3 separate regions of the Homo sapiens genome follow, and regions 2 and 3 are each linked to region 1. Evidence: promoter capture Hi-C in 16 types of primary human blood cells and fetal thymus (Javierre and others, 2016). All regions are on one chromosome and are shown on one strand. Each heading gives the region's core, a stretch centred on a gene start or on the middle of the fragment in contact. The rest is flanking DNA. Distances are from core to core; before and after follow the strand shown. Region 1 holds the start of ORAI2 (ORAI calcium release-activated calcium modulator 2). Region 2 holds the start of COL26A1 (collagen type XXVI alpha 1 chain). Region 3 holds the start of SAP25 (Sin3A associated protein 25).

The links. Contacts are between HindIII fragments. The CHiCAGO score rates a contact against its expected background, and 5 or more counts as called.
Region 2: the fragment with the promoter of COL26A1 here is called in contact with the fragment with the promoter of ORAI2 in region 1 in 3 of 17 cell types (M0 macrophages, M2 macrophages and M1 macrophages); the score reaches 11.5 in M0 macrophages.
Region 3: a contact is called between the fragment with the promoter of SAP25 here and the fragment with the promoter of ORAI2 in region 1, in 1 of 17 cell types (M0 macrophages). The highest score is 5.1, in M0 macrophages.

What each region holds. Positions count from the first base shown.
Region 1 is chr7:102,431,051-102,435,146 of GRCh38, forward strand. ORAI2 (ORAI calcium release-activated calcium modulator 2) reads left to right here and starts at 2,525. Exons shown (of 4, transcript NM_001126340.3): 1 at 2,525-2,611. RefSeq lists silencers at 292-586, 1,985-2,124, 2,155-2,934. The HindIII fragment of the contact is 6,966 bases long and covers 1-4,096 here.
Region 2 is chr7:101,361,100-101,365,032 of GRCh38, forward strand. It overlaps COL26A1 (collagen type XXVI alpha 1 chain), which reads left to right and starts at 1,776. Exons shown (of 13, transcript NM_001278563.3): 1 at 1,776-2,091. The coding sequence starts at 1,934. RefSeq lists a silencer at 2,910-3,149. The HindIII fragment of the contact is 2,872 bases long and covers 1,252-3,933 here.
Region 3 is chr7:100,572,626-100,576,483 of GRCh38, forward strand. SAP25 (Sin3A associated protein 25) reads right to left here and starts at 1,275. Exons shown (of 6, transcript NM_001348680.2): 1 at 972-1,275; 2 at 672-775; 3 at 481-587; 4 at 235-388; 5 at 29-126. The coding sequence starts at 1,117. It overlaps LRCH4 (leucine rich repeats and calponin homology domain containing 4), which reads right to left. Exons shown (of 18, transcript NM_002319.5): 15 at 3,613-3,698; 16 at 3,246-3,383; 17 at 3,080-3,157; 18 at 1,386-2,679. The coding sequence ends at 2,482. RefSeq lists enhancers at 2,139-2,693, 2,694-3,247. The HindIII fragment of the contact is 23,848 bases long and covers 1-3,858 here.

The DNA.
Region 1 (4,096 bases), core at 1,275-3,774:
CCTTTGCTGAAAGCACATTCATCTATGATGCAAACTACTGCGTTTACAAAGTGTTTTCTTCCTGTTTTGTGTGTGTGTGTGTGTGTGTGTGTTTTGAGACAGAGTCTTGCTCTCTGGCCCAGGCTGGAGTGCAATGGTGTGATCTTGGCTCACTGCAACCTCCGCCTCCCAGGTTCAAGCGATTCTTCTGCCTCAGCCTCCCCAGTAGCTGGGACTACAGGCGTGCGCTACCATGCCTGGCTAATTTTTGTATTTTTAGTAGATATGGGGTTTTACCAGTTGACCTGGCTGGTCTTGAACTCCAGGCCTCAGGTGATCAGCCTCCCAAAGTGCTGGGATTACAGGCATGAGCCACCGAGATTCATTTTACCAAGAACTCCACGTTGGAAAGCCATAACATGATTGCTTTTTGAGGACTTTACCCCTGAAATTCAAATGTTCCCTCACCCATAGCCATTGATGGGGGTGGCAGGAGGAGGGCCAGTAAGGAACCCTGGGATTTGCTTATGTCCATGTTAGGGCCTAACTTGCCTTTTAGGTCAGTAACCCGGAGGGGGAAACCTGGTTTATTAGACTAAGTGTCCTCCTGGTTTCATTCTGGCTGTCAGCAGTAGCCTGTAAAAGACAACTCGAAGTGTAGATGGATTTAACCTGGCGTCCGTAACATCTACTCTTCCAATTGTCATAAAATGTGGGCTGGCTGACATGAGTGGAATTTTTCCTTCGTTTGGATAAATGTGTCACGGTCCAATGCTGTTGTGACAGATGGAAAAATCCTATGTAGGGCACGCAGCAGCCTACCCGGCATGGAGGAAGGACTCCAAGGGACCGTCTGGCACCGCCGGGCTGATAGGAACCCATCTTGTCTGTCTGTGAATTATTCATGTGCTGCACTTCCTGAAAAGAATGCTCCTGTTTGACTGCCTCGCTCGTAAAACCGCAGAGAATTCACCGTTAAAGGTGAGAGGCTCCCTGCAGTAGGGAGTGGAAGGGGCCAGGGCACAGCAGAAACTCTTTGCTGCTGTCTGCGAACAGCATGAGAAGGACAGCACGCTGCACTGAAGTTGGGACCCCAGGGGTCTCGCTGGGTCTGTGAGTGGCAGTGCACTCTGGGTGGCAACCCCCAATTAGCTCAGTGCAAGCTCTTCATGGTGCCATCCAACACCCTGGGCAGGGGCCAAGCAAGGTGGCCCATGCCTCTATGCCCAGCACTTTGGGAGGCTGAGGTGGGAGGATCACTTGAGCCCAGGAGTTCGAGACCAGCAGAGGCAACATAGCAAGACCCATCTCAATTTTTTTAAAAAATTTAAAAATTAGCTGGACATTGTGGCACATGCCTGTAATCCCAGTGCTTTGAGAGGCTAAGAGAGGATTGCTTGAGGCCAGGAGTTTAAGACCAGTCTGGGCAATACAGGAAGACTCTATCTCTAAAAAAAGAATTTTTTTTTTTTTTTTTGGCTGGGCACAGTGGCTCACATGTATCATCCCAGCACTTTGGGAGGCCGAGGCAGGCAGGATCACCTGAGGTCAGGAGTTCAAGACCAGTCCGGCCAACATGGTGAAACCCCATCTCTACTAAACATACAAAAAAGTAGCCAGGCTAGTGGCGTGCACCTGTAGCTCGGAGGCTGAGACAGGAGAATCGTTTCAACCCCGGGGTCGGGGGTTGCAGTGAGCCAAGATGGCACCACTGCACTCCAGCCTGGGTGACAGGGCAAAACTCCCTCTCAAAAAACAAACAAAAACAAATTTTTTAAAAACTACCACGGTGTGGTGGCTCCTGCCTACATGTAGCCTCAGCACTTTGGGTGACTGAGGGCAGAGGATCACTCGAGCTCAGGAATTCGAGGCTGCATTGAACCGTGATCGCACCACTGCAGTCCAGCCTGGGCGACAGAGCCAGACCCTGTCTCAAAAAAATAAAAAAAAAAATCCTGTGAAAACTCGGGCGTGGCCAGACGGATTCTCCCCTCCCCACCTTCCTTTCCCCTCCACTGCCCACCTGCACCCGCCCGCCCTGTCCCCACTCCCCGCCCCTCTACGCAGCCAGCGTCCAATGCTGGGCACCCCCCGAGGCTCACCCTGCCAAGCCTGGGGCTCCCCTTTTGCGCCCGGACCCAGGGGCAGGGAAAGCCCAGCTCGTGGTCTGTGGGTAGCCGGACCCCCGATGGGGCGGTGGGGGGCCTCGCCTTGACTCCCAGAGCTGGGGCCGGGGACAGGAGCTGGGGCAGGAGGGATGCGCGCGGGTCGGGGTCTTCCCACCTCCCCTGCTCCTCTCCCTCGCGCGATCCCGGGGTGGTTCCAGGTGAGGCGGGGACCCCCACCCCCCCACTCTCCGAGGAGGCGCCGCCAGCCCCGCCCCTCCCGGCCCGGCGGGTGACGTGGCCGCGGCTCTCCCGCGGGTGGGTCACGTGTTGGCGGCGCCTGGTTGCCTTGGCAGCGGCTGCGGCGGCCGCGGGGGCGGGGTGGAGGCGGGGCCGGGGGACCCCGCGCGACCGGCGGAAGGAGGGAGGGGGCCGCGCTCGGCGCCCCGGCCGGGCCACTGGGCCACAGGCCACGCGGCCACGCAGTCCGAGCGGGAGCCGAGCCGGGCGGGGCGAGGGCAGCTCCGGTGAGTGTGGCGGCGCGGGGGCCTGGCGCGGGGAGCGGGGTCCCTGCGGCTGGGGGGGCCGGAATTGGACCGGGGACGCTCGGCGGGGAAGGGGACGACTGTAGGCTGCCCGGGCGCGGTCACTACCCATCCGGGGTTGGTGACCTCCACCCCGCGGGATCCCTGGCGGGGTGCGGCGCCCAGAGGATCAGGGTCGGCGGCGCAGCCGGTTCCGGACACCGGGGCGTCCCTGGGGGAGGGACAGGGATGCAGCCTAGCGCCCCTGGGAGGCCCCCTCCCAGTGCGCCTGCTGGAGAGAGACACTCGCCATTGCCGGTGCCCCAGATGCTTAGAGGAAGTCAAACTCCAAGACCGCCCTCTGGAAATGTGTCCAGTAGGCCAGCCAGGAAGAAAAGCTCATCTCTAGAGAGGGGATCGCGTTATTCTACAAGACCTGTTTTCTCGGACTGCTCATTAAAGCAAAAAAAAAAAAAAAAAAAAAAAAGCAACCCCACAAGGTTCAGTCCCGGAGCATCCTCTAGGGTCTGTGCCACCTGACAGAAGTACAGGGCTCCATCCTGCCCCACCCCACCCCCTGCCTGGGATCCAGTGTGAGGCCCAGACTCTGTCCCTCCCCCTGGGCCACCGGGCCTGGCACACACAGTTGGCATTGGGAACATAAAGGATGGATTTGAACCCCCTCCTGGGCTGCTCCTTCGAGACCTGGAGACCTGTCTCAAGACCCAGCTCCAGGCAGACAGACATCGTTTCCTCCACAATCCCACCCACTCTGGGGACATCTGCAGGGCCTCACCGATGGGGCATGGGAGGCCTGGCGGCTCCCAGGAAGCCACCCTCAGCCCTCACTGCCCTGAGCTCTTCACCTCCACTCTCAGACCTGAGCCCAGCCCACCCTTACTGATGGGGCATCCCTCTTGTTCACCCTTCCTTCCTTTGGAGGCCACCAGGCTCTCCCTTGCGTCCCACTCCTGCCAGTCGGCCAGCCATTTCCCTGGGTTGAACTGTGGTCCCAAACCAGAATGATCTAGCAGTGCCCAGACCGTTCCACTCACCAATTTCTTCCATTCTCCTGTGGCTGGACGCCCAGTCATGCTGCCCAGACCCTCTGGCTCATTCCACAGCCCCAGGCTCCAAGTGTCTTCCACCCACATCTCCCTGCCCCCTCCACCCCCCAGGTGGCAGCCAGTCTTCCCTCCATATCTCCTGGACAAGGAGAGCCACCCCACATGTACACCTGGAGTGGCCTTCCCGTCTCTCGGAATCCTTCCATGCAGGCAGCATCTTGTCTTTGAGGAAAGGTCCCTCTTTTTTAAAATTCTTTTTAGAGGCCAGGCGCAGTGGTTCATGCCTATAATCTCAGCACTTTGGGAGGCCAAGGTGGGCGGATCACTTGAGCTCAGGAGTTCTAGACCAGCCTGGCCAACATAGCAAAACCCTGTCTCTACCAAAAATACCAAAAATTAGCCAGGTATGGTGGCACACACA
Region 2 (3,933 bases), core at 526-3,025, 1.1 Mb before region 1:
ACTACGCCCAGCTAATTTTTTCTATTTTTTTAGTAGAGACAGGGTTTCACCATGTTAGCCAGGCTGGTCTTGAACTCCTGACCTCAAGTAATCTGCCCACCTCAACTTCCCAAAGTGCTGGGATTACAGGCGTGAGCTACTGTGCCCGGCTTCCAAAGGATTAGGATTACTGAAGTGAGCCATTGCCACTGGCCTCTACAATCCTTTTGCAAAATGTGCTCCAGTCCAGCAAACACTTCCATATTTGATGGTTTTTCTCCATCCTGTAGGCATTTTACAGACAGGAGTTTTCAACTGGTCACAGGGGCAGAGCAAGCCTCAGGGCATCTGCACCCTTAGGTTGCTTTTGGAAGAATTAGGAAAAAAGCTCCCAGGCCGGGCTAGGTGGCTCACACCTGTAATCCCAGCACTTTGGGAGGCGGAGGTGGGTGAATCACCTGAGGTCAGGAGTTCGAAACCAGCCTGGCCAACATGGCGAAACCCCGTCTCTACTAAAAATACAAAAATTAACCCGAAATGGTATTGCTTGCCTGTAATCCCAGCTACTCGGGAGGCTGAGGCAGAAGAATCACTTGAACCCGGGAGGCAGAGGTTGCAGTGAGCCGAGATCGCACCACTGCACTCCAGCCTGGGTGACAGAGCGAGACTCCAACTCAAAAAAAAAAAAAAAAGAAAAAGAAAAAAAAAAAAAGGAACAAAATGCTCCTAACCCGGGCGAGTAGAGTACGGGCTGGATTTCTGGTCCCACCTGGGCCTGGAGCAGGGTCCAAGCCCTATGGGAATCCTGCAACATAGAAAAGACCAAAACTTGGGTCCAGGCTGGCCTTGGGCCCAGCATGGGATCTAGGACTCTGCTTTTCTGTTTATAAAAGGTGGGATTGTCCTACATCTTCCTGAAGCCCTTTTCTGGATAGGATGTCTCATGAATCTGTGATTCTAGCTACAACTTTTTTCTTTTTTTGAGATGGAGCCTCACCTTGTCATCCAGGCTGGAGGCCAGTGGCCTGATATTGGCTCACTGCACCCTCCGCCTCCTGAGTTCAAGTGATTGGCTTGCCTCAGCCCAGCCTGTAGTTGAGATTACAGGCACCTGCCACCACACTAGGCTAATTTTTGTATTTTTAGTAGAGACGAGGTTTCACCATGTTGGCCAGGCTGGTCTCGAACTCCTGACCTCAGGTGATCCGCCCACCTCGGCCTCCCAATCTAGCTACAACTTCTCACCCCAACTGACCCTTCCGCCCCTCCCAAAGCTTCTTACCTGGAAGAGACAGCGGGGCAGGTGGGGGCTGGAGGTTAAAGGGGAAGGAGGAGAATCCTGGGAAGCTCTGGTCAGTTTCTCACGGGAACGCAGCGCTTTGATCCAAAGAGCCCTGCACAAGGATCGGAAGACTCGCATTTGTCTGGCTTAACTTTCTCCAGCCTCAGTTTCCACTTCTGAATGGGACCATCGAGGGCAGTGTGGCGAGGATTCACCAACATCGTCCAGGTGAAATTGGCAGACACAGAATGGGCGCTCCGAAAGCATTCGCGGACCCGAAGAAGGTTTGGTTTCAAAGGTTCTAAGGTGTGTAGCGGGGGCCTGGGCGCGAGGTCTGGCTTTCGGGGTGTTAGGCTCCAGGGACCTCCTGCGGAGCTCGCACCCTAGCTCTGCCGCCACTGCCGCCTCCTCGGCCCCGGACCGCCGAGGGTTAACAAAAAAGCCCCACGCCCCCTTTGACGGCTTAGAGCCCACCTCGCCGAATTTGAAAAGGCGGCCCCGGAGAGGCGTGGGCGCCCCCCACACATTTCCAGCTCGCACCCGGGCTCCGACCGCTCGCCCCGCTCCTCTCGCTGTGCTCCCGGCCGGTGCCGCGGGTTCGGTCCGGGCGCCGGTGCGCTCCTGCCGGTCCTCGTGCCCGGGACTCCGGGTCCCCGCGGGCTGCTGCGCACGATGAAGCTGGCCCTGCTCCTGCCCTGGGCGTGTTGCTGCCTCTGCGGGTCGGCGCTGGCCACCGGCTTCCTCTATCCCTTCTCGGCCGCAGCTCTGCAGCAGCACGGCTACCCCGAGCCCGGCGCCGGCTCCCCTGGCAGCGGCTACGCGAGCCGCCGGTGAGTAGCTCGGGGCCGAGGGGCCGGGGGGTGGGGGGAGGGAGCGGACAGCGGGGGCCCTGGCCACTGGGTGGCTGGAGCGAGGCTTGGGGGCTGGAGAGCGGGGCGATCCGGGACTTGGGGGCGCAGGGCAGCGGGGACTGGGGGCTGCAGACACCGGGCAGCTGGAACGAGAGCTGGAGGGGGTTGGGGTGCGGGGCGATTCGGGCCTGGGGGCGCGGGGTGGCGGATGCCAGGGGCAGGGGACACGGGGCAACTGGGACGAAATGGCGGTGGCTGGGGGTTGGGGTCACGGGGGGAAAGACCGAAGGGCCTTGGGTGCAGGGCGATTGGGGGCTGGGGCGCGGGGCGGCGGGGGTTGGGGGCTGCAGACGGGGCAGCTGGAACGAGCGATGGAGGAGGCTGGGGGTTGGGGCCGCGGGGCTGCGGGGCTGCGGGGTTGCGGGGGCTGAAGGTTCGGGTCCGGCTCCGGGGCTGCGGTGGTCTCTGGCCGCGCCCACCCTGTCCCTTCCTTTCTTCGCTTCCCCAACCTTCGCCCCCTCGTTCCGGGCTCCGAGTAGAGGTGGTTCCGACCGCCGTGGCTGGGGCTGGGGCTCTGCCCGGGGCGTTCGGCCGCTCACGTGGCTCTGCCGCTCACCTGCGCGGCTGCGGCTTTGTGTCGCGGAGCAGGTTCTCGGGTGGCCAAGGCCTCGCGTCCCGGGCACCCCTCTCCTATCAGCGGCCCCAGGACACCAGAGGGGTCATTCCCGCCCAGTCTTTGGGGCTGAGGCCGCGGAGGATCCTCGGCTGCGACTCCCCAGCCACCCCGGGACGTGGAACCGGCTGGGATCGGGTGGCTCCGTGGCGGGGTTGGAGAGGGCGCAGGGTCACCGGGCCCGGGCGCCGGGACCCGCCAGGCGTCTCCTTCCTCTCGGCCGGCAGGTGGCGCCATGGCCACCCCCGGGACGCTCAGGGCTGCGGCTCCGGAGCCCGCATTTGAATTTCCCCAGAAAACCATAAGCATGCAAGTAAAAGTTGCCAAACGCCTCGTTTGCATAACTCGCTTGAATTTAGCTTTTCTCATTTAGTGATAACTACAACCTACACAGCTATGACAGCGCTCTGGAATGCACTACCTGTGTCTGTTCCCTCCGTCTCTTTTTTATATTTTAATTTTTTTTTTTTGCAGAGGCAGAATCTCAACTCTGTTGCCCAGGCTTGTCGCAAACTCCTGGGCTCAAGCGATCCTCCCGCCTTGGCCTCCCAATCTCCATTTCTTTTGATCCTTAACAACCCTAGGGTTAAAACATTAGAGTAGTATCTTTCCTTTAGCTGAAGAAACAGAGGCTCAGGATTTGCTAGGCCTAGGAGCCACTCAGGACTGACCTCTTGTGCTTTCTTTCTTTTTTTTTTTTTTTTAATATAGGGTCTTGCTTGCTCCCCAGGCTGGAATGCAGTGGTGCGATCATAGCTCACTGCAAACCTGATCTCCCAGGCTCAAGTGATCCCCCGACCTTGGCCTCCTGTGTAGCTGAGATCACAGGTGTACACCATCATGACTGGCTAATTTTTTGATTTTTTGTAGAGGTGGGATCTCACTGTGTTACACATGCTGGTCTCAAACTTCTGGCCTCAAGAGATCCTCCTGCCTCGGCCTCCCAAAATGCTGGGATTACAGGCGTGAGCCACCACGCCAGGCCCAGATCTGGTGTTTTCTAGCATACTGCTCTGCCTATCAAAGCTAAAAGACAGCTCCTAGTTCTTTTTTTCTCCTTGATATTTACCAAATCAGAGGACTCCAAGATGATTTCTGGCTAATTCCTTAATAACAAGGAGACAGGGATGTTTCATGCTGGGAAGAAA
Region 3 (3,858 bases), core at 25-2,524, 1.9 Mb before region 1:
AAGGACAGGGAGGGGAAAGAGCTCTCACCTGCTGGGGGGCCTTGGACAGGTACAGGGGAACACGCTGCCCCCGGGGCAGCAGAGGGTCCGAGAGGAAGACATCTTCACAGCACACCACCGGGAACCCTAGGAGGAAACACCACTAGGGTGGCGGGCTGCGGGCTCCCACCCCTGGGCACTGGTTCCCAGAGGAGTTGGGGCAGCCTTGCGCCCCCGGGGGACCAAGGGAGGTACCTGCATCTGGGGGCGCCTGCTGTCCATTCCAGTGCCCTGTGGCAGGGGCCACGGGCCTGAGACCCCTGCCCGAGGCTGCTTCATACAGCGGCCAGAATGAGGGGTGACACAGCGTCCGGCCTGAGAACGAGGCTCCTGAGCTACAGTTGGCCCCCTAGGGTGAGGAGGACAGAGCACTGGAGCCTCAGGCCACCGCACAGCTCCCTGAGCACCCCAGCCAGTCCCACAGGTTTGCCCCCAACTCACCCACACCGGCCGAGGTCCTGCTTTGGCTTCATACTTGGGGTCCCAGGGCGCTAGTGGAGTCATCCTCGAGGGGGCCACCTCCCAGGCCACCTGGGGGGAACGGGGATCTGGGGGGACGCTTGGGGATTATAACAGGCTCACAGTCAGTGAGAGGCTCTTAGGGGTAGTAGAGGCAGCAGGGCCTGTCCTACCTGGGGCTCCGGGGGGCTGCTCAGTGGCCGGGCCTGGCAGGTGGTGGGGCAGCAGCAGCTGCTCTCTCCAGATCCAGGAAGGGCTACGGGATGGGGGCTGTGGGCTGGAGGGGCAGGGACTGAGGCTGCAGCCACACCGCCCCCACGCACCCTCCCCTGGAGCCCAAGGGTGCCTGGTGCAAGGGAGACCGAGGGACCCAATCTCCAGCAGGGACAATGGAGAAGCCTCCGTAGAGCGCGTGGTGAAGGCATGGAGGCCCCCAGTCGCTGTCCCCCCACGGCTCCGTCCGAGCCCCTCACCTGTCCCATGGGGGTGTCCCCAGCTCCCTGGGGGCGTCCGCTCCGGCGCTCCAGGGCTCGCCCTGGTCCTTGCCCGCCGGAAGGCCTGGTCCCTCGGGCGCCTCCTCCGGGCCCGCGCCCCACCGCGGCGGCGACCAGGGCAACATTCCGCGTTCCCGAGCGCAGGACGGTACCGCCGTGTCCCCGCCGCCCGGCCCGGCCCTCTCAGCCTCCCTCCGCGGCGCGGCGCGAACGTGCCCTCCTGGCGAACCCACCCCAGAGGCCTCGCGGCGACGCTGGCGCCCTGTGCGTCTCCCGGCCACGTGGCGCGTGCCCCCGCCGGGCTCCCGCGGGCGCCCCCTGGCGACTGGGCGGTGAATTCCGGAAACAGAGGCCCCCCCAACAACCCCGCGACGCACGTGCTCTCAGACACAGTTACACCTGAGGGCCACCCAGAGGGCTTCTGGCTTCTGTTTATTGCGGCTGACACGACACCTGCGACACCCGCGGTCCTTCCACCCAGACCCTCGACCCCAGAGGCAGCCAGGCCGGCAGGCCAAGGGTGCCCAGGCCCAGGCCACCCTCACCACGTGCTTCTCTGAGAGCGCGGAGCCCAGGCGCGTCTTCTGCTCCCGGGGTCCCGGGCGGGGTGGGCCCTGTGCCCCCACCTTCACCCCTAAGGCCGGTCCAGCAGGGCGTGGACGACAGCAGCGATGTAGGGGAGGCCCCTTCCCGGGGCCCCCTCCTCTTCCAGGATGTGGTGGGGCTGGCACAGTGACTCCTGGGGGAAGGGGCCGGGTTAGCTTCCCCACGGTGCCCCCTGCGGCTTCCGGCCTGTGGCAGGGGGTCGGGGGCAGACCCGAGCATCACCGTGCGCTCGGGGCTCGGCGACAAATGAGACGCAAGAAAGCTGTCAGCGATAACAGAAGGGAGGTGACACGGGGGGTTGGCGGACGCTCCGGGAGCATGAGAGGCCGGCATCTCAGGAGGGAGATGCTGGTGGGCACAGAGCCATGGCCACAGCCACCAACACGCGGAGCAGACGCGCGCGCGCGCGCACACACACACACACAGGCAGGGCGGCCACGGTCTGTACAGTTTATACACAGAGATAGGGACCCGGCCTGGGCCCCGAACCCCTACAAATATAGATCCTCTCTACAAAATAGAGATAATTTAGCCCCCCCATAGCAGCTGTTGGGGGGGGAAGGGGAGGGCACAGGAGGAAGGGGGAGACTCCAGCTCCTGCCACCCCTCACGGGGTACAGAGGGCAGGGGCAGGGCCGGCGGGGACATGAAGGCACCGTCAGCACTGAGAGGTGGGGACTCGTGGGGCTACTGGAGGGAGGCCAGAGGCTGGGGGCCCAGGGTCTGGGGGCACCAGAGTGGGGCCTCTGAGGTCAGTGTCTGTGAAGGGGGTGCACTAGTGTCTTTGGTTGGGGCTGAAGGCACCGCAGGTGGGGTCGGGTGGAGCAGGGACCTTATAAATAGAGAGGAAGGGAAAGGGGTGAGGGAGGGCCGATTTTGGGGCCTAGGAACCCAGGAGCCGAGTGTAGGTGACATAGAGCAGCAGCATGAGGACCACGTAGAAGACGACGAAGCCGCCCAGACCAGAGGGGGGCCAGAGGGGCGGTAGGGCCTTGCCCCCCACCCGCTTCACGGCCTCCAGCGCGGTCCGCAGCCCCCGGGCAGTGCCCTGGAGGAGATCCGAGGGCGAGCACAGGTCAGCCTGGGGGAGAGGAGAGCAGGTGGACAAGGACAAGGGACAGACGTCAGCAGCAGCAGCAGGACAGTCCCTCCCACCCCTGCCCTCACGTGCTGGGGCCAGAACCACGCCCACATGCTGACGTGCTGGGCAGGGGGAGTGCAGTGCAGGAGGAGTGCAGGGCAGGGCATGTGCAGGACAGGTGACATGCAGGACAAGATGGGGCCTGCAGGGCAGGGGATGTGTAGGACAGGTGACATGCAGGGCAGGGGGCATGCAGGGCAGGGGGCATGCTGGGCAGGGCAGGGGCAGCCTGTGCCTTCATCTGAGAGCAGACATCCGCTGCAAATGGAAGCCCACCATCCATGCCACATGCTCGGCTGAGTCCGGCATGCCACCACTCTTTAGAAAGCAGCCCCCATACCTCAGGCACCCCCATTTTTCGACAGGCTTCTAGAAAACTCTCCACATTCTTCCGAGCCTTGAGGGCACTGAGTTTTGGCTGGGGTGGGTGAAAGAAGAAAATGTGGTAAGGGAGAGGCCACAGGCGCCCCGGCCCATCCCCCACCTCTTCCCCAGCCCCAACTGACCACAGCAGGGGAGGGCACATGGATGAAGGGCACGGAGCGCGGCCGTAGCTGGTTGGCCAGCTGGCACAGGATGACCCCACTGGCCAGAGCCTCGGCCAGGTCCTCAGGCAGGGGCCGCTGCAGCCGGGACTCAAGGACCTGGCAGTGTAGACCACATAGAGCAGGGGTCAGGGAAGGAGAGGCGTCTGGGAGGCAGGGAGAGTGGGGGGCTCAGGGCTAGCAGGGAACTTGTGCCTGTCCCTTCCTGTCCTCAGGGGAGGTGCCAGAGTGGGCACAGAGGATGTGGAGGGAGGCTGGTCCCAAGGACAGCAACACAAGGAGGTGCCCGGCCCAGGCCCCTGCCCACGCAGCTCCCGCCTCTGCTCACCTGGCGCAGCTGAGTCATTAAGTCCTTCTCATCTGGAACCTGGGGGTACCGCCGAGGTCTCAGGACAGAGTCTGGTGAGGAAGGGCCTAGGAGAAAAAGGGGGGCATGGGGCTGCCTCCACTGCTCACCACTGACTCTGTAGCTGGGTCCCAGTGGCCTGGCACCTACACCTCCTGCCTCTCTGCTTGTGGGATTTTTTTTTATTTCATGGAGATGGGGTCTCGCTATGTTGCCCAGGCTGGTCTT